Regions from separate parts of the Homo sapiens genome. Here all the other regions are linked to region 7. Evidence: promoter capture Hi-C in 16 types of primary human blood cells and fetal thymus (Javierre and others, 2016). All regions are on one chromosome and are shown on one strand. Each heading gives the region's core, a stretch centred on a gene start or on the middle of the fragment in contact. The rest is flanking DNA. Distances are from core to core; before and after follow the strand shown.

Region 1 (2,827 bases), core at 279-2,778, 910 kb before region 7:
AAATAAATTGAAAATACTGCAATTCACAAATAAGAGTGAGAACAACATTTTTAGTTACGTAAGACTATATTATATTAAATTAGGTGGCAGCAGTATTTATAATAATCTAAATTGCCTGTGAGAAAATTAAACTGGTATTGTCAATACATACTTAAAATAAGAAAAAAATCCCACTACAGTCTGTCCTTTTTGACACTTTCTCCTTCCTGTAATTTTTTTCTTTCACTCAAGATTAAAAACAAACGTTCAAGATTATCCCTAAAGAGAAATAGTTGGAAAGCACAATTTAATAGCAAGTTGGTTCTATAAATGTAATATTTCAGTTCATAGTTCAAAAATACTTCCAAATAGGAATTAACATGAATTTAAGAAATTAACATAATGGCACACAGCTAAACTGATGATCTGAGTCCGTAATTTCAAATTAAGAGTTGTTCCAACTTGAAGCTGGCAGTCATACACAGTTTAAAGGGTTTGTTTACAGCACTGTCAAAAGCAAATACCACAATCTTTCAGAAAATTCACCCTGGCATTCTAATAACTAGTTATTTTAAGGCAGTATAATTGTTGAAATACTTCACAAACTAAGCCAAAATGCGTTTCCTTCTGAAGGCAAAAAAAAAAAAAAAAAAAAAAGGTGACGTCTTATTTTTAACCTGTGATTTTTTTTTTTTTTCAGTTTCGGATTATGAAATAAAATGCTGTTCATCCACTGAAGAACAGACCCTTGCTTCCTGCACTATCTTCAAAAGTTTAGGTCGGAGGAGGTAAAATTTTAAAAACTGATTTGTTCTCCTTGGGATACAGTGAGATGTGGAATTCGTTAGGAATGATAATTATTAATAGAAAAGATCAAAAGAAGGAAAGAAACGTTAATAGTGTTTATAAGCATTGTGAACTTTCAACAAAGCTGAAACGTTACGATTTCAAGATGAAAAAACGGCTTTGGGGAAGGGAAATCCACCTCGAGAATGAAGACAAGTGCGGAGCGAATAGAATTTCAGGGGAGATGAAAAGGGGATTGGGAAAAACGTGGGATCTGGTAACAAAAAGGGGGGTTTGTTCTTGAAGGGCGTTCTGCGGGGCGGGCGTTAAGAGGGGTGCGTGCGTGCGCCTGGGTGAAGTTTGTACTCAGGGCTGCGATAATCGAGGTGACAAAGTTGTGGAAGTAGAATTCGGAGGTCCGGGAGCAGGAAGGGGAAGGAATGTGGGGATTTCCAGGCTGGGCTGACAAGTTCCGGGCGCTGCTCTCAGGGGGAAGGGAGGTCTCCTCGAGTGCCAGATAGCCCGTCCGAAACCACCGACACTCTAACTCCAGCTACGCGACCCAGCACCCGGCCCCTCCTCACCTCAGGCCGCGCCGCCTCGACCCTCCGCGTCTCCACAGCGCACGAACCCCTTGGCGCCAGGCTGGGCCAGACCCGTCGGCCTGGCAGGCGCGGCCCCCGGTTCAGCTGCGCCGGGGCGGCCCAGCGCGACTCCGCGGGCCTTTTGGCTGCTCGCCCCGGCTCCGGAACACTGTCAGATCCTTCTCCGCAGAGGTAGCGCGCCACCCCAGTCCCGCGGCGGGGCGGGGCGCTCCCCAATCCCGCCCAGCTGCGCCCCCGGCCGGCCAACGCTGCGCCCCGCCCCCTACCGGGACCTAGGCGCTGATTGGCCCCTGAGAGACCCTTTGCGCCCAGGCATTGGTCCAGTGGCCGCCTGTCGACGAGGGGGCGGGACTCCGAGGGGTAGCGATTCCCGTAACGCGGCTCTTCGCGTCCCGGATTCCGGTGGCTGCGTCCGCGTCGCCTCTCCCAGACTAGATCGAAGGGTTCCCCCCACCTCCCCTCTGTGGGCGGAAAGAGCGGAATGTTCCATTTTTCTGTGGAATAACGGGGTCATGAACTGGAGCCCGGGTGCTGCCCGCCGCCCGCTGCCCCCGCCCTCCCTTCTCGCCAGGGCGCCTGCGGCCTCTCTTCGCGGCCTTCCCCGAGGGACTCAGAGCCGCGAGGGACCGCCTAGCTCCCTTGGGGATGGGGAAGGCGTGGGAGCCTCTTGGGGAAAGTGAAGAGCTCGGTGGCCGTGACTCCGCACGAGACTGCGGCAGATTGTGGCGGCGGCTTCTCTCCAAGACTTACGTAAACGAGCCTTGCCACAGTACTTTTTTAAATTAGTAAATGAGTTTGGGTGCGATTGATCAGTGAGCCCCAGAGGTGGTGGCCCACCAAGCGACTAGTGTTTCTTTGCGGTTTGTACCTCCCCGTTTATGATAAAAAATACCGGGTAAAAACCTATTCATCCCGCCTCCGCCCCCCCCTTTCCCTCAGAAAATGGACCTCAAGGCTCATGATGTTTGTTTCTCCCCAAAGGAAGATGAGAATCTTGAGTTAAAAGATAAGGCATGTGCGTGCGTGCGTGTGGGGTGTGTGCGTGGGTGTCTGTAAAAGTAAACACCCAAAGGTAGAGGTTTTTGTGGAAGAATGAGAGGATATAGGAAGGAAATAATGGTTTAATGAACTTAAATTATATCCATAAATTAACAATTATAAAGTTCTTCATTATATTGAGGATTCAGATAGAGTAAAACATAGATCGAATTTTAATCTCTTAGTTGTTGATCAGATAATTTATAAAAGGGCAAAGTGGGCCTGCTAACGGAGTCGCAGGCAAAGTAGATGGTGCTGCAGCTGATGTGTTCAGCTCTTGCTCCTCCCTGTCATCCTATATCTAACCTATAGATTGTGACCAGATTCTGTTCTAGCTTTGCCATTTAGAGGGGTGTTTATTTTAAAACAAATTTTTATAAAAATTTGTTAAATTGAAAATTTTGTATAGATCCAGGAAA
Region 2 (2,788 bases), core at 83-2,582, 950 kb before region 7:
AGTAGTCCATTCCACCCAAAGCATGTTATCTTTGGGGAATGCTTTAAGATCCATTACAGGGTGAGTAGCTTTAAAACAAAGTTTGAATATTGAAATAATAAATATTAACAAATTTGAAATTTCCATATTTTACAGTCATTTCCAAAACATGTGATTTATCAATTTTTGTAGCATATACTTCCTTGCCTAAAAGCACTTTATTATAACTTACAGGTAAAGTAGTCAATTTTTAAACTTAGATTTTGCTTCCCCGCTGGGCACTGTGGCTCATTCCTGTAATTCCAACATTTTACGAGGCCAAGGCAGGTGGATCACTTGACATCAGGAGTTCGAAACCAGCCTGGCCAACACGGTGAAACCCCGTCTCTACTAAAAATACAAAATTAGCCAGGCATTGTGGTGCGTGCCTTTAATTCCAGCTACTTGGGAGGCTGGTGCACAAGAATCGCTTGAAGCCAGGAGGCAGAGGCTGAGATCGTGCCATTGCACTCCAGCCTAGGCGACAGAGCAAGACTGTCTCAAAAAGAAAAAAAAAAATTTGCTTTCCCTAAATTCTTCAAATGCTTTCGGTTTGTAATTGCAATTTTTCTTCTTTGAAAGCTACGAATAAAGCTACAGATAAACGTTTCAGTCATATGTATACAAAGTTCTCAAAATCTTGAAATAATATTTTAAAAACCAGGTAAGTAATCAGAATATGCTTAAATGAATGAAGTAGCTTACTGTGAAGTTTAAGTGAGCATGTAGTGATGGAAATGTTCTTGCATCCTGATGAAATTTGTCTGCTGACTGATTCCTAAAAATGCGATCACTAGCTGGGTTTGGTGGCATATGCCTGTTAATCCCAGCACTTTGGGAGGCCAGGGGAGATCGCTTGAGCTCAGGAGTTCGAGACCAGCCTGAGCAACCTGGCGAGACCCAGTCTCTGAAAAAAAGAAAATCATTATTTATAAAATTTAAAAAATTAAAAAATAAACAAGTGATTATCCCTGATACTGAGGAGACAGTCTTAGATAACTTGTGTTTTTTATGGGAGCCCTGTCCATACCTAACCACCATTTTTCCACCCAAGAGTCAGGCTCCATCTCACAGATACAAACCTTGAAAGTCACAGGCAGGGATAGTTAAAACAGCTGCATCTGATTTGCCAACAAGATTTCTTACTGTTAGGGTTGCTAGATAGCGATCATTTGTGAGATTTACTGTCAGTTTTGTGGCATTAACTGTGTAATTTTGTAAATGTGATTTCCATCTTGTGAGAGTCACTTCATAATCCAAGATTTTTCCATTGGCTTCAAAAGGAGGCAATGTCTGTAATAAAATAGTTTATTTTTAAAAATAATCTCATAAATCTTGAATAAAAAATCAGTTTTTCTTCATATTCACAAATCATGCCATTATGTCAAATCTCTAAATATTTAACTGGAAAGGATTCACAATCTCCATTTTAAATTTGGTTCTAAAATAAAACTAGTACATACTAAATGAAGAGTAAAAGCATGACCTCAACTAAAAAAGGGTAAGTAGCATCATTCCGTTAGCTTTTGGTTCTGTATCAATTCTGCACTGTGGCTATGTAGGTCTAAATTATTTATTTTATGCTTGAGTATTTTTCTACCTTCTTTTTTAGTATGATCTACTCATGCACTTACCAGCATACATTTTGATTATCACAAACTTTTATTATTTTCTGAGTTACTCTGGAAAATTCCAAAGTACAAAAACAACATTCCTCTTCTTATAGAACTTATACTTTCACAGAACTGTACTTAAATACCTATAAGGTATTATTTGTAGTTTATGAACCTGACTTCTATATAATATTAATACATATAAAGCATTACCTTTCTATTTAGTAAAAATAGTAATCAAATGCTTTGCTATTAAAATGAATAAAAATTTATCTATTTAAAAGACCTCCATTCATAATACCATACAAAATGTATTTATAAGGGCTGGGCGCGGTGGCTCATGCCTGTAATCCCAGTACTTTGGGAGGCCGAGGCAGGCAGAACATGAGGTCAAGAGATCAAGATCATCCTGGCCACCGTGGTGAAACCCTGTCTCTGCTAAAAATACAAAAATTAGCGGGGCGTGGTGGCGCACACCTGTAGTCCCAGCTACTCAGGAGGCTGAGGCAGGAGAATCACTTGAACCTGGGAGGCAGAGGTTGCAGTGAGCCAAGATCACGCCACTACACTCCTGCCTGGCAATGGAGCGAGACTCGGTTTCAAAAAAAAAAAAAAAGATTTATAAGAGATAAAATATAAATGTGATTTTTTACCTTCCACACGAGTTGTACAGTTCTGTAGCCTTGAGTATGGGATGGATCTATTTTATACCAGAAACTTGGTGCTTTAGATGGTCCTAAAGAAAAGACATAAACTCCTTAAAATAAAAAGGTTTTAACAGTAAAATAAAATTCTGCAAATTATTCTTTTACTTTGTTCTTAATACTCTTGCCCTCCAATTGCATGGTGTCTCTACCTCTTTATACCAGCATTTTCCCAACCCAGCACAAAACACCTGGCTCTTCCTTTAGTCAGGGTGATAGCCTGATCAATTATACTGGAACTCTTTTCTAACCTCAAAATTGTAAAGGTAAAAATGTATTCTGAGCAACAACTAAAGAGGCATCACTCTTTCTTATAACTTCATGTTCTTTATTCTGTTTGTGTGCTGGCACTGTATTTATCTACTTGAATCTCCTGTACCAGCAGCCTTTTCCCAGCCTTCCTGGTCTGCCTGTCCTCACTTCTGTTTTGTCATCTGTAATTGCCTCTTCATG
Region 3 (2,700 bases), core at 192-2,691, 990 kb before region 7:
TTCCTGACCTGATGGGCTAATTAGAGAGAGAGGAGCCTTGGCTATAGGATTTGAAGCCATTTACAAAGCAGCCAAGAGCACATTAATCTAAAGACTGTCTAAATATCACCAGGGAATGTTGATGGGCATGGCAGTCTGAGGCTGCCTCAGGTTGTTTTTCTCAGGCTGGGGACGTCAGAGTCAGGCTTTATTTAACTGGCATTGGGGTTTTCTAGTGAGTATTCCTTAACTAGAAACCCTCCATTTGCATAAATTTTTAAGTGGAAAACCGTTAGGGAAATTTTAAGGTTTAATTTCTTGCTTACGTAGAAACAAGCCCAATCAAATATAACCTTTAAATCCTTGTTACTGAAAGGCTGTTTCCAGTTTTTCCTTGATGCACAAATTTTAAATATTAGTCCTCGTTCCCACTCAGAAGTCTTTTTTGAGCATGGGCCTTTTGTTATAATGGGCTTTCTTTCTGTTTCCTCCTCTTATCAGTCCGGTATACTGGACTGATTTATACCCCCATTTACTTTCCTGCTTATTAAATGTCATTTAGAGAGTAAATGGATTCATAGGCAGTGCTCTCTGATAACTAACATGCTTTTTGAATAATCCGTAGGTTGGACCTCTAGAGCCGGCACTTATTAATCACTCACTACATGCCAGGTGCTGGGCTAGGCCCTAGGGATACAAATGACAAAGTCACTGTCCCTGCCATGAGGCCACTTCTGATTTTCTGGTGAGGTTGAACAAGTCTGTCTCTATGATGTGGTTTTTCCATCCCTAAGAGTTCTAATTTTAGTTCTTCCATCTTAACTGGGGTTTTGTGAACATGGGATTGTGTGGAAAATAGCCTTGCACACTCTAGCAGAAGAAATTGTTTGAATTGGCTGGGTACAGCGGCTCATGCCTATAATCCCAGCATTTTGGGAGGCCAAGGCAGGGGGGATTGCTTGAGCTCAGGAGTTTAAGACCAGCCTGGGTAACATGACAAAACCCCATCTCTACAAAAAATTAAAAAGTAGCCAGGTATGGTGGTGTGCATCTGTAGCCCCTGCTACTCAGGAAGCTGAGGGGGAAGAATTACCTGAGGCTGAGAAGTTGAGGCTGCAGTGAGTGGTGATCATGCTACTGTACTCCAGCCTGGGCAACGGGAGTGAGACCCTGTCTCAAAAAAAAAAAAATTATATACATATAAATAAATAAATTTTAAAAATTGTTTGAATCCAGGGCACTGTTTCTCAGGAAATGTGCCACTCCTTCCAAGCTCTGTGGAAGGGCATGCAGAGAGGGTTGGCTACCACTTCTGGGCCTGGGAGGAAGGTGGGGGCTGTTCCAGAGATGGGCATTTGCTGTCCCAAGCCTAACGAGTTTTTGGCTATGTCATATGTGACTCCTAAATGACCACTTGGGATGTCCCTTTTTCTTTTCCAGGATAAGCTAAACCTGAAGGAGTCTGATGACTCTGTGAACACAGAAGACAGGATCTTAAAACCATGTTCCACCCCCAGTGACAAGTTGGTGATTGACAAGTTGGTGGTGAACTTTGGGAATGTTCTGCAAGAAATTTTCACAGATGAAGCCAGAACGGGTCAGGAAAACAATTTAGGAGGGGAAAAGAATGGGTATGTGACCTGCCCCTTCAGGCCTGATTGTCCCCTGGGGAAAAGTTTTGAGGAGCTCCCAGTTTCACCTGAGATTCCGCCCAGAAAATCCCAATACCTACGTTCGAGGATGCCAGAGGGGACCCGCCCAGAAGCCAAAGAGCAGCTTCTCTTTTCTGGTCAAAGTTTAGTACCAGATCATCTGTGTGAGGAAGGAGCCCCAAATCCATATTTGAAAAATTCAGTGACAGCCAGGGAATTTCTTGTGTCTGAAAAACTTCCAGAGCACACCAAGGGAGAAGTCTAAATGCGACCATAGCATGAGACCCTCGGGGCCTCAGTGTGGATGGCCCTTGCCAGAGAAGATGTCAAGACTCGGCACGCAGCGCTTGCTTGGCCCTGCCACATCCTGCCTAGGTTAAAGTTTCCCCTGCCCCTTGAGCTGCCAGTTGAACTTGGTCGGCAAAGATGCGACCTTGTACTGGGAAGAAGGGATGGTGATAAGCCCGAGTTTTGTAAAGGAACAGCAGTCTCTTTTCGTTTGTTCAGATACCAAGCTCTCACCGAGGCCTCCTGACAGATTGACTTTGAAGGAAGGGCCCAGGTTCTGAGCCCAAAGGACCCCCAGGGTGGACATATCTGGCCTCCCAGGAATTGGGTCATGGTCCCAGCCTTTGCTGGGGCTGAGCCTCAGAGTTCCAGAAGGCCTTTCCCTGCTGCCAGAGGACAGTTGTTTTGTTGGCTCTTGGGTGGTCTGGTGGGAGCCTGGGCTCTGGTCTTCCCCTACAAGGTAGCCCTGAAGCCTTCCTCTCTCCCCATAGTTGGGGCTGGAGGTGGAGTGGACCTTCCTAAGGGGTTGTCTGAGGCTCCTCACATCCTCTTAGATCTCAAGTGCCTGTAGCAACACCGCACCTGAGAATCCTCACCCCCAATTTAGACTGCATTGACTACTAAAAAATCAAGGAATGGGGAGGGCCCTGGGGAATGTATGCTGCCGGGCGCAGCTCTGTCCAGTCTCCAGGGGGCCACTTCCCAGCTGCTGCTGCCCTTCTATTCAGCACCCAGCCTGGGAGCAGAAAGGCACCTGACATTGCAGTGGTTGTCATATAGG
Region 4 (2,700 bases), core at 104-2,603, 940 kb before region 7:
AAATAATTAGGACATTTGTCTACTTTAAATTATTTAGTGGCTACCTACTACCAAGATAAAAGTCCCAACTATTTGACATGATTTTATTCTTTTTCTCTAGCTTCAATGTCCACAATTTTAAGGTGGCTTTCCTCAATGAATCCTATTTGCTGTGGGGTTCCTGGGTAGTTACCCATGAAGTGTTTTTGAGATTAAAAATTACTAGCCTGGGCAACATGGCAAAACCCCATCTCTACAAAAAAAATATAAATATTAGCCAGGCATGGTGGCACACGCCTGTAGTCCCAGCTACTTGGGGGTGAGGGTCGTGTGCTGAGGCAGGAGGATTGCTTGAGCCCAAGAGGTCAAGGCTGCAGTGAGCCCAGAAAAAATTAAAAACAGTTTTTGCAGTCAAAATTGTATCCCCAAATGGAATCCCAGGACCTCTCACAAAGCCTGTAAAACCCAGAGCTGGAATGTGTATTTCTTTGTTTCAAACTTATAATGTGGTCTGTTTATATCATCTTGCTGTTATTTATAAATGCCTACTGTAAATCTTAGTGCATATATTACTCTCAATTTCCAATAGCATGGTCCTTCATCCAGTGGAGAATCTCTACTAAGTTACTCTCTGATACTGGGTCAGACCTTACAATTCCCTAGACATCACTTTATTCTTTGGCAAAATCACTTGTTATACTTTCTCTAAAGTAATCATAGGGATGTTAAATATGAAATATACTCTAGAGTTCTAAAAAGATATAATTAGAGACTCAGTATGAATAATTTTTAATCACACAGAATAAGAGAAATATTAAAAATGGGCAAATGGGCTGGGCGCAGTGGCTCACACCTGTAATCCCAGCACTTTGGGAGGCCGAGGTGGGTGGATCACGAGGTCAGGAGATCAAGGCCATCGTGGCTAACATAGTGAAACCCTGTCTCTACTAAAAATACAAAAAATTAGCCGGGCGTGGTGGCGGGCGCCTGTAGTCCCAGCTACTTGGGAGGCTGAGGCAGGAGAATGGTGTGAACCCAGGAGGCGGAGCTTGCAGTGAGCCAAGATCACACCACTGCACTCCAGCCTGAGCGACAGAGTGAGATTCAGTCTCGAAAAAAAAGGGGCAAATGTTCCGTTTTTCAAAGTGAGACACAGCTTCAATAATACCATCCCATGTCAAATTAATCCCATTTTACAGGGCTACCAGGCTGAGATTAAATTGTAAAAAGAAAGTATTTTAATTAAGAAAGGTATCTGATAAAGTTATTTTGAATGTTTATAGGGCAAGATGAAGAAATGTGAATTAGAATACACTATAACTGGGTTGGACGCAGTGACTCACGTCTGTAATCCCAGCACTTTGGGAGGCCGAGGTGGATGGATCACCTGAGATGAGGAGTTCTAGACCAGCCTGACCAACATGGTGAAATCCCGTCTCTACTAAAAATACAAAAATTACCCGGGCGTGGTGACCTGCACCTGTAATTCCAGCTACTCAGGAGGCTGAGGCAGGAGAATTGCTTGAACCTGGGGGGCAGAGGTTGCAGTGAGCTGAGATTGTGCCACTGCACTCCAGCCTAGGCAACGAAACGAGATTCCATCTCAAAAAAAAAGAAAAAAAGCAAAAAAAAAAAGAATATACTATAACCGATATTACAATGAACATTATGAAATTGCTGATATTTTGCTACTTTTATAGGTTCATACTCAAATTTATATTTGATTACCCATATATAAAAAAACTGACTTAAGAAAAAAGTCAATTAGAGGATAGTCTTAAGTAGAATATGCTGAAGTGCATGCCCTCAATCCTTGGAGAAGACTGTATTTTAAGAATGGCCACACCTACATATTTATCCCATCCCACGTTTTTCTTACGATGTCACGCATACTCTTTTCATGAAGAGGTGGGGACTGCATTTCCCCCAACCACATCAGATCTGTATGGGTGCCTTGTGTCCACTCCAGCCAATGGAGTGTGCTATGAGACTTCAGAGGCTAGATCATTAAAAGAATACAGACTCCAATTAGCTTTCTTTCTCTCTCCCGGGATATCTGCCCTTAGAACCCAGCCACACATTGTAAGAAAGCCAGGGCCATAAAAAGAGGCCACGTATGGTGTTTTGGACAATGGCCCCAGCAAAGCCCTCAGCCTGCAGATACCATTAACAACAGACATATAAGCGAAGGAGTCTGAAGATGACTCCAGCCCCCAGTCTGAATATTGCAGCTGAGGCCCCAGACATTGTACAGCAAAGATGAATACGTCTGATTGTGCCTGCCTATCTATAGTCTTGTCCTATACAAATCATGAGAGGTATTATTATCATTTTAAGCCTTGAAGATTTGGAGTATTTGTGAGGCAGCAACAGGTAGCTAATGCAGTCCTGTTATTTTCAACATTTTAATCAACAACTTGGGAAAAGACAGACACACATGCTTATCAAATTAGCAGAGGACAGGACTACAAACAACTGCCAACACTTCGGATGAAAATGTTGGGATTTAAAATTATGCTGAAAGAGTAGAACACCAGGCTAAAACTGATAAAATGAAATTAGCAACAGAGGAAATATATCCTATTTAGGTAATAAGAAATATACATTGGGTGAGGGAGAACTAGTTTAAGAGTAACTCATGTAAAAACCACCTGAGAATTTTCACTGATCACTAGCTCAACATGAAACAAGGGTATATCTCAGCTACCACATAGTTACGTA
Region 5 (2,700 bases), core at 5-2,504, 680 kb before region 7:
GAAGAGGGGTAGGTTGGATGACTGGTTCTGCATCTTTGCTGTCCATGAGAACTTCCCAAGGAGTGTTGGTTGGGCCAACCACTGCAGTTAAACTGGAATCTCCCTGGGTGGGATGCAAGCATCAGCATTTTCAGAATTTCTTCAGATGATTCTTTTTTCTTTTTTTTGAGACAGAGTCTTGCTCTGTCGCCAGGTTGGAGTGCAGTGGCCTGATCTCAGCTCACCGCAACCTCCACCTCCCAGGTTCAAGCGATTTCCTGCCTCAGCCTCCCGAGTAGCTGGGACTACAGGCGTGTGTCACCATGCCCAGCTAATTTTTGTATTTTCAGTAGAGACAGGCTTTCACCCTGTTGGCCAGGATGGTCTCGATCTCTTGACCTTGGGATCTGCCCACCTCGGCCTCCCAAAGCACTGGGATTACAGGCGTGAGCCTTGCGCCCGGCCCAGATGATTCTTAAGTACAGCCAATGTGAGAACCAACAGGTTACTTGATTGCTAAGATTCTTCCAGCTGCAATGTCTTCTGTCCCCATCTGCATGTAAAGACAGTACTGCTAGGGTTCACTTATCCAGACAGTAACGATTCATGAAAAACCCTCAACTAAAGCCCCATGTTCAACTTTTCCCGAGAAAGTCACCTCCCTTTGGTTTGTCCAACAATATAGTATTTAAAATCTGTATAATGGTCTCAACCCTCATGGTCTTTCATGCTTTTAAGAAAGAGGAAGGATTAATGGGTAATAAAACTATTCAGGAATGGCTTAGTTAATTATTATTCTAGGTCTTGCTATAAATGGTATCCTAGGGTTCTGAAAAAAATAATTAATGTAATTTAGTCATCCAGCACTAAGCCCTCATTTGATCTGAGGACTGCTACATTCAGGCTGAAGGTAGAGAGATGAGTAGTCTTTTGCACTTCAGAAACTCCCAGTCCAAGGTGATAATAACAACAGCAATAATAATAACAGCTGCAGCCAAAATGGGAAAATACTTATTGAATATCAGGCATTGCTAACAGGTGCTTTTTATATGTTATTATTTTAGATCCTCACAACAACCCTGCTAGGTAAGCATCATTTCCTTCATTGTATTCCTGGGGAAACTAAGGCCCAGAGAGGTTAGGTAACTTGCCAAGGTCACACAGCTAAGAAGTAGATGATCTGCCATTCTGATCTACGTCTATAAGATTTAAAATCCCATGCTCTTTCCATCATATGATAAAACCTCTAGAAAGAGAGAAAGGATTGAGAAATAGAGATAAAGATGGCAGGGAGAGGGTTAACTTCCATGGGAGAGAATCCGGCCCAGGTGGAGGAATTGCTGTGAATTGCTCACATGAAAGGTGTTAAAAGAAAATCAGTCTTGTAATTCTGTATCTTAACTATGTTTGGGGCTCAATCCTGTTAGAAGGTACAGCACTGGAACATGTAAATTCATTATGAAGAGCTAGTTCTTCTTCAGTCAGTCCCAGCTCCCTCCAATTAGTCTTCAAAAATAAACCCATTGTATGTTTCGTGGCTTAGCAACATCATTTTTCAGCCAGTGTGAGCTCTTTGGTTCTTAGCAGATTTTCACTTTTACTGACTGCCATCAGTGATATAAAATGTACCAGGAGGAGAGGATGGTGGTGGGCACAGCTGTGACAACGCCTTTCTCTATGCTGTTCAGATCCAAACACGGTATGAGCCGGCACGTTCTGAAGGCGCGCACACACACACACACACACACACACACACACACACACACACACATACACATACACAAACACTATTCCAAATGAGCTAAGACCTGGAGAACACACTATACACATATATACATTAGCTAACTCAGGAATCTAAATATAAATTTATTTTTGGAGAAACCCCCTGGGCTAAAATAATTCACCCACAAAGCCAGATGTAGCTTGAGGGGTAATAAACATGCTATGGCCTAGAGCAGGAAAAGGGAAAAAAGAATGAAGCAGTACATTTTCTTAATGAGGCTTTTTCAAACCACCATTTCATGTTGTAGCCAAAACAGATAAAATCACCAAAGGAACTTAGGATCTTGAAGAATATTCAGAGACTGTAGAAAGTGGTTTAAATAATAGATATTTAAGAAAAGATTCTAAAAAATATTTATTATGTTTATAAAATGGAAATTTCATGTTTATACTAAAAAAAGATTTACTATTACACATAAGTATTACACGAAGATGTATATAAACACATTGCATATGCAAAATGTATACACATAGACCACATGGCCAAATATGTGATATTATAAGGATAAGTTGATCTCACAGCAACATTTTGATGTGGAAAATTACCTCCACTCCAGAAATTATAAGTAAGGAAGATATACCCTGGCATTGCAAATAATAGCATAGGGATATGTCATTACACAACCTTGGATGAGATAACATATCAACCCGACATAAATACAGGCAACATCTATTCCTGAAAGGAATAAAAAAATGCTTACGAAGATACAGCAATGAGATACTGGGCTAATCGAATGACAAAAAAAATGTGATGTGTTCTTACATTGCTTACCCTAATTTTTAAAAAAGATTTGGAAAAAACAGAATAAAGATGACACTATCTGAAATAGTTGGTGTGCTTGAAATCCAGTTTTTAAAATTTGAAGGTAGGAATACTTCAACAAGATCATAAGCTTATACAACAGATCATAAGCTTATTTTTCTGTTTCAGATGCTTAT
Region 6 (2,782 bases), core at 207-2,706, 970 kb before region 7:
AAAGGAACTGCTGCCAAGGACCAGTCCAAAGAAGAATTAGGCTGTAAGACTGCTAGTTCATACCTTCTTTGAAATCAATGACAATGTCCAATTTTAGGCTAATCCTAAAACACTTGCCATTTTATGACTCCATATTCTTTTAATTTACAGAAAAGTACAAATTTTTTAGAAAGTAATCTTATCAGCACAATATAATCTAACAATACCTGTAATAGAAAGCTATCCCAGTAAATTTTTTTTGAACAATTGAACTTTTGTCTTATGCAGCTTATAACTTTGTTATTTTATTCATCTCAACAAAATAAAACTTTATTGAAACAAAAGTGTATGGTTTAGGAATATGCTCTTAATAACAACTGAGCAAAATTAGAATGATGTGGACTATAACAGAATGAAGGAAGATCTCTCCTGCTTGATGTACTTGGTCAATATATGTTAGTAAACAGAAATATTTTAGGGAATTCTATGATTATTCTACTTCTACATTTACATGTCATGGTTTTAACTAGTTAAATGGGTAGAAAAAAGACATCTTTAATAATTGATTTCTATTTCTCAAACTAGATGCTCTACTTTAAATATGAGCTTTAATGAATGTTTTGTAACATTTTAAAGTTGTAACATTTCTAAGTATACTCCACTAACTTCACAATAAGAGCTAGGGTCACTGGATGACTTCATGTGGTAAAATCCCTTATCAAGGAATAAGGCTGAAATTTAAATGAACAATTAGGTAGAGAAGAGGTATGAACACAGAACATGTGAATGAAATTTGCTTTTTTTCCTTGCTGCTGTTCCCGAGTGCCGACTGATCCATAGTAAAAAAGGACAAGATTAAAATTTTAGGTTTTAATGGTACAAAGTGTGAAGTTTTATAGTTTTCTAATAATTATTCAGTATTATCCCTTTCAGAGATGAGGGTAGGATACCACAGACATCAGTAACTGACAAGTTATAATATCAACACATGTAACATTTGGGTCATTATTTTATAACCCTAAAGGGAGCAACTGCAGGTGCAGAAGCAGTGAGTGAACTAGTTTTGTCCAGACAAGGTTTTCTGATGTGCTATTACTTTAAACACCACTTTTGGACACTAAAGATTTAAAGTGATAAAGCCACTAACTAACTTTATTAGACTAGTTTTTACATAAATAACCAGATTTCTTTGCCTACCTAAAGTACAATTTACATGCATCAACACATAGATTATTCTAAGACATGCTTGGGAAAGTAATTTTGAATGTAAAAAGTTTTATAATTTATTTTCTCCTTAGGGCAGGTGTACATTACATATTAGTGCTCAAATATATGTTCATTTCCAGAATGAATTTTTGCACAGTAATCATATATCCATTTAATATGTATAAAGTGTTCTTGGGGATGGGGGTATATTCACTCACTGTACCATGTTTTATACAGGCTTCAACATGCAAATTTGTTTATATCATGGCCTTCAATGATCCTCCATTCTCATTCCTGTAGATTAAGAGTTCATATTGTATATCTGACCCTGAAATGTACAAACTTCACACTACAACATTCTTCATGACACTATTTGTTATGAGGAAAGTTGCAGCTAAATATTAGTCATGTGACTTAAATTTTGAGAAAATGGAAAATGTAATAGGTATAAATTTCCTGACACATACAGCAAGACAAATCCAGCCCAGCCTTTGATGATCAACTTAAAAGCTGGAGATGTCATTATCTTGTTGTGTAAATTTGGGTCTATCCCTACCTTTACTTCTCTGTGCCTGATTTTCCTCATCTACTTTGAATTCGTCATTCTATTAATCTACTTTTGCCTAAAGTGGGAAACTGAATATATCAGAATGAAACATCTATTTTTTTCATAAAGAAGATCATATAATATGTGAAAGAACTTTGAAAGGATGAGGCATTATATAAATGCAAGAATATAAAAGATAAACAGGAAGTCTAATGTGAACAATATTCTGAGAGTAAAAAGTGTAATTATATTTCCATTGTAAATGTATACCAAGTTTTCTTAGCTTTCTATTCTCCAATAACCTCTAGAAACTATTCTAAGCATGCCTGGTTTCTGTAACTTAAATATGGCATAAAAACCTGTTTCCTTTGAATTCACTTGATAGCAGTAGTCAATCACTAATAACGCTTGCTAATTTCCTCTTACTTTCTAAGAAAACCCCTATATTTAGCATCTGCTTCCATATCGCACGTGGTGGTTAGGGGACAGCATAAGTACACTAGCGGCTTTAGCACTAAACTCGAGGCCTGGGTCACTTCTCCCTTGAAGAAAAAAGGTTTTAAAAATTCCTAAATCACAATGTAGAACTAAGTTCCACCCTACCTCAGAACTGCAGACATTAAAATACCATCTCTTTATTAAGTGTCTCTACAATAATGATATTTGCTAAGAACAAGATGTACATTTTTTGGGGTTCTGTTTTGTTTTGGCAAATATTGCCCAAGTTGTCTTAGTGTGCCTCAAACATTTACTAAAAATAAAAAAATTTAAATCTTTGCCTACTTATTTAAAAATAAAAAAAATACTCAAAACAAATTTAAGCTGAAGATATATACTGTATAAAGTGTTCATCTACCCAGTACTCTGAAGTCTTAAGAAAAGTCAATGATATGTGTGTGTATATATATATATATATATACACACATTAGCAATTTAAGCCTTTTAACATGCCAATTTTTTAGATGCTTTATTGGTTTTTTTTCCCCTTTACTACTACTTCCTGTTTTCCCCTTTACTACTACAATTTAAGCCTTTAAAAATGGCAATTTT
Region 7 (2,744 bases), core at 245-2,744:
GTCACCCAGGCTGGAGTGCAGTGGCGGATCTCGGCTCCCTGCAACCTCCGTCTCTCAGGTTCAAGCGATTCTTCTGCCTCAGCCTCCTGAGTAGCTGGGACTACAGGCACGTGCCACCAACGCTCGGCTAATTTTTGTATTTGTTCTTTTTTAGTAAAGACGGGGTTTCGCCATGTTGGCCAGATTGGTCCCGAACTCCTGACCTCAGGGGATCCACCCGCCTCGGCCTCCCAAAGTGCTGGGATTACAGGCGTGAGCCACTGCGCCCGGCCTTGGCTGAGTTTTTATTAGATCTGAGCCGTTCAATTTCAATAGTTTAGGATCCAACCTCACTCTCAGGCAAAGAATAGAGGAAATGATACCAACGTATTTATCTGTCAATAAACACTTGGTGATTTGAATATGGTTAAGGGATTCCTGTAGTTTGCCCCCCTTAAAACTGAACTTTGTCCAAACCTGTTCTAAATATGTGTGTGCGTGTGCATGCATCTGGGTGTTGGGGAGGAGCGGTCGTAAAGTTCCTTTTAAATTTCACCTATGGGGGACTACTTCCCACCTCATCCTATGAAGTCAACATTAGCCTAAATACCAAAGCCAGATTAAGACACTACAAGAAAACTACGAAACAATATCTCTCACGAACACAGATGCAGAACTTCTAGACAAAACGTTTCCAAATTGAAGCGAAGACCATATTAAAAGGACAAAAGCACCTCAGTGGTTGCTTGGGGACTGGGGGAGGGGCTGGATTACTATCTTGGCTGTGGTGTCGAAAACCTATCAAATTGTTCACTTTAAATATGTGCAGTTTATTGTATCCCAACCATTCCTCAACAAAGCTGTTTTTCAGAAACATTTGTCCATGTAGTTTTGCCTTTGAATGGTTGGGTCAATGAAGAGAAAAACGAGTGAAAACAGGGAATCATGACACTTTGTTTTTTTACGTGTAAATATTCGCAAAACGCCCAAACTGGTAACTTTGGGAACACGGGTTCACGCAGAAGAAGGGCTGCTGTCTGGGGAGGACTGAAACTCGGGTTCCCGAAGTCGGGCTGCTCTGGGGCCACGGAGAGAAGGGGAGAGAACGTCGAGGAAGAGGCAGAGCTCAAGTGGACGGAGGATGGAACACAGAGCGCGGCCGGGACAAAGGGGCAGGCCAGACAGCCGTGACAGAGAAACTAGGCGGTCCGCTCCTGGGACGCGGTCTCGGGGGCGGGTTCGCCCCTGAGGCCCGGTGACCCTTCGCCCGCAACCAGGGCTAGCGCTTGTGTGCGCCCACGGAAGCACCCGAGCGACCGGAGAAAGAAAAAGTGGTCAAGGGGACCTCCTTCCAGCTCTACGCGCCTCTCATTCAGAGAGGTGAGGTCAGGAAAGGGGAAGGACGAAGCCCCAGAGCAACAGAAGTCAGGCGGTGCCAGGAACACTGAGAGCGGAGCCAGGGGAAGGCGGCCGAGCGCGGCCCCCTCTCCTCCCGGGCCGGGGCGGGCCCGAGGCCTCGATCCGCCTTCCCCGCGCCGTCCTGGTCACGGCCCCGCGGGGCAGCCATGCCTGGCCGTCTGCTGCGGGGCCTGTGGCAGCGATGGCGCCGTTACAAGTACCGCTTCGTTCCCTGGATCGCACTGAACCTAAGCCACAACCCGAGGTGAGAGGGCGGGACGGCAGAACGAGGGGCACCTGCCTTCGGTTCCCAGACGCCACCACGGCGGCGGGACGCAAAGCGGAGAGCCTGAGGCTGACTGCCGGCCTGAGATGGGCGGGCCCGGGTGGGCAGGGACTGAGGTGGGCGGGCCGGGTGGGCGGGGACTGAGGCCTCGGAGGGGTTTAAGGAACGCGGGCCAGAGGCGGGCGGGGCCGAGGTTGGTGGAGTCCGAGGCCCGCTGGAAGCCTGAAGTGGGCGGTGGCTTCAGGTGGGCGGGGCCTATGGCCTCTTTCCCAGTGTCCGCTGCGCTGCCGGGCCCGCGAGGCCGAGCTCGCCAGCCGGATGTGTCGCCTGTTCTTCCCTGTTGCGTTCGGCACTGACTGGGGAGCTTGTATCTGGGCAAAAATGGAAACTTTTTAAAAAGACTGCCCTTACCGCGTGAGAGTGCGTGGCTTTTTCTCCACCAGGGGTTAATTAGGTGCTTGAACTTCCTCAGAAAAGCCAAGCCAGGGTTTATTTTCATAGTTCATACAAGTACTTCACGTGGTTAAAGAAGCCCATCCCGGCTGTGAGAATAGCGTGCAGTAGCTCGCGCGTTAAGAACGGGCAGAACGCCACTCAAAAGCACGTCGGGATGGTGGGTTTCGGATTGGGGTGAGTCCCGCCGGCGTTATTAAGGGCGCACCAGTGATCAGCTCAACACCGTGCTCACCAAAGAGGCCGACCGGGCCTCCCTGAAGTCAGTGTCCGACAAATAGGGAAACAAAGCGGTTTCCGGAAGGTTGCATGCTAGGGAAACAGGAGATCAGTTGTATCATGACTCGGAACCGTGAGGCGGGAATTACAACCTTTTTGTTCAAGTAAAAATAATGCAGTTAGTACAAAAAGATAATGATTATGGAAATAAGAGGTGCAGTCATTGAAGACGTTAGTCGTCCTGGAGGGAGTGTCACAAAGTATACGATGTTGAATTTGTCTTTGAAACTACAAGGCCATTTTTAAAAAGCCATTGAATGTGAGGTCATTCATTCTCATTGTGATGACATTCAGCTTGGCTGTTGGGTGTAGTACGGGAAAGAGCTGAACTTCGTTTCTGCCTCTGGCT

Evidence for each region. The method cuts DNA at HindIII sites, captures the fragments that hold promoters and counts their contacts. A CHiCAGO score of 5 or more calls a contact.
Region 1: a contact is called between the fragment with the promoter of IL6ST here and the fragment with the promoter of SETD9 in region 7, in 5 of 17 cell types (naive B cells, neutrophils, total CD8 T cells and 2 more). The highest score is 6.9, in naive B cells.
Region 2: a fragment that was not itself captured here is called in contact with the fragment with the promoter of SETD9 in region 7 in 9 of 17 cell types (monocytes, naive CD4 T cells, total CD4 T cells and 6 more); the score reaches 11.5 in monocytes.
Region 3: a fragment that was not itself captured here is called in contact with the fragment with the promoter of SETD9 in region 7 in 4 of 17 cell types (fetal thymus, monocytes, non-activated CD4 T cells and 1 more); the score reaches 6.0 in fetal thymus.
Region 4: a contact is called between a fragment that was not itself captured here and the fragment with the promoter of SETD9 in region 7, in 7 of 17 cell types (total CD8 T cells, naive CD4 T cells, naive B cells and 4 more). The highest score is 8.8, in total CD8 T cells.
Region 5: a contact is called between a fragment that was not itself captured here and the fragment with the promoter of SETD9 in region 7, in 1 of 17 cell types (activated CD4 T cells). The highest score is 5.0, in activated CD4 T cells.
Region 6: a fragment that was not itself captured here is called in contact with the fragment with the promoter of SETD9 in region 7 in 5 of 17 cell types (naive B cells, non-activated CD4 T cells, monocytes and 2 more); the score reaches 8.2 in naive B cells.

Annotation. Positions count from the first base shown.
Region 1 is chr5:55,993,435-55,996,261 of GRCh38, forward strand. IL6ST (interleukin 6 cytokine family signal transducer) reads right to left here and starts at 1,529. Exons shown (of 17, transcript NM_002184.4): 1 at 1,350-1,529. It overlaps IL6ST-DT (IL6ST divergent transcript), which reads left to right and starts at 1,733. Exons shown (of 2, transcript NR_102755.1): 1 at 1,733-2,120. RefSeq lists cis regulatory regions at 297-2,615, 1,309-1,982, a silencer at 1,260-1,739 and an enhancer at 1,571-2,082. The HindIII fragment of the contact is 8,053 bases long and covers 1-2,827 here.
Region 2 is chr5:55,954,925-55,957,712 of GRCh38, forward strand. IL6ST (interleukin 6 cytokine family signal transducer) reads right to left here. Exons shown (of 17, transcript NM_002184.4): 9 at 2,285-2,367; 10 at 1,101-1,311; 11 at 1-68. Among named protein-coding and RNA genes, the nearest start is that of IL6ST, 39 kb to the right of the region's middle. The HindIII fragment of the contact is 4,335 bases long and covers 1-2,788 here.
Region 3 is chr5:55,915,225-55,917,924 of GRCh38, forward strand. IL31RA (interleukin 31 receptor A) reads left to right here. Exons shown (of 15, transcript NM_139017.7): 15 at 1,420-2,700. The coding sequence ends at 1,896. Among named protein-coding and RNA genes, the nearest start is that of IL31RA, 65 kb to the left of the region's middle. The HindIII fragment of the contact is 5,310 bases long and covers 1-2,700 here.
Region 4 is chr5:55,971,421-55,974,120 of GRCh38, forward strand. The region is part of intron 3 of IL6ST (interleukin 6 cytokine family signal transducer); the gene reads right to left. Among named protein-coding and RNA genes, the nearest start is that of IL6ST, 22 kb to the right of the region's middle. The HindIII fragment of the contact is 6,726 bases long and covers 1-2,700 here.
Region 5 is chr5:56,229,948-56,232,647 of GRCh38, forward strand. The region is part of intron 2 of ANKRD55 (ankyrin repeat domain 55); the gene reads right to left. Among named protein-coding and RNA genes, the nearest start is that of ANKRD55, 2.0 kb to the right of the region's middle. The HindIII fragment of the contact is 2,795 bases long and covers 1-2,652 here.
Region 6 is chr5:55,937,503-55,940,284 of GRCh38, forward strand. It overlaps IL6ST (interleukin 6 cytokine family signal transducer), which reads right to left. Exons shown (of 17, transcript NM_002184.4): 17 at 1-2,782. Among named protein-coding and RNA genes, the nearest start is that of IL6ST, 56 kb to the right of the region's middle. The HindIII fragment of the contact is 3,697 bases long and covers 1-2,782 here.
Region 7 is chr5:56,908,102-56,910,845 of GRCh38, forward strand. SETD9 (SET domain containing 9) reads left to right here and starts at 1,495. Exons shown (of 6, transcript NM_153706.4): 1 at 1,495-1,642. The coding sequence starts at 1,545. RefSeq lists enhancers at 1,131-1,220, 2,011-2,060, 2,156-2,744 and silencers at 1,371-1,580, 1,761-1,970. The HindIII fragment of the contact is 6,770 bases long and covers 1-2,744 here.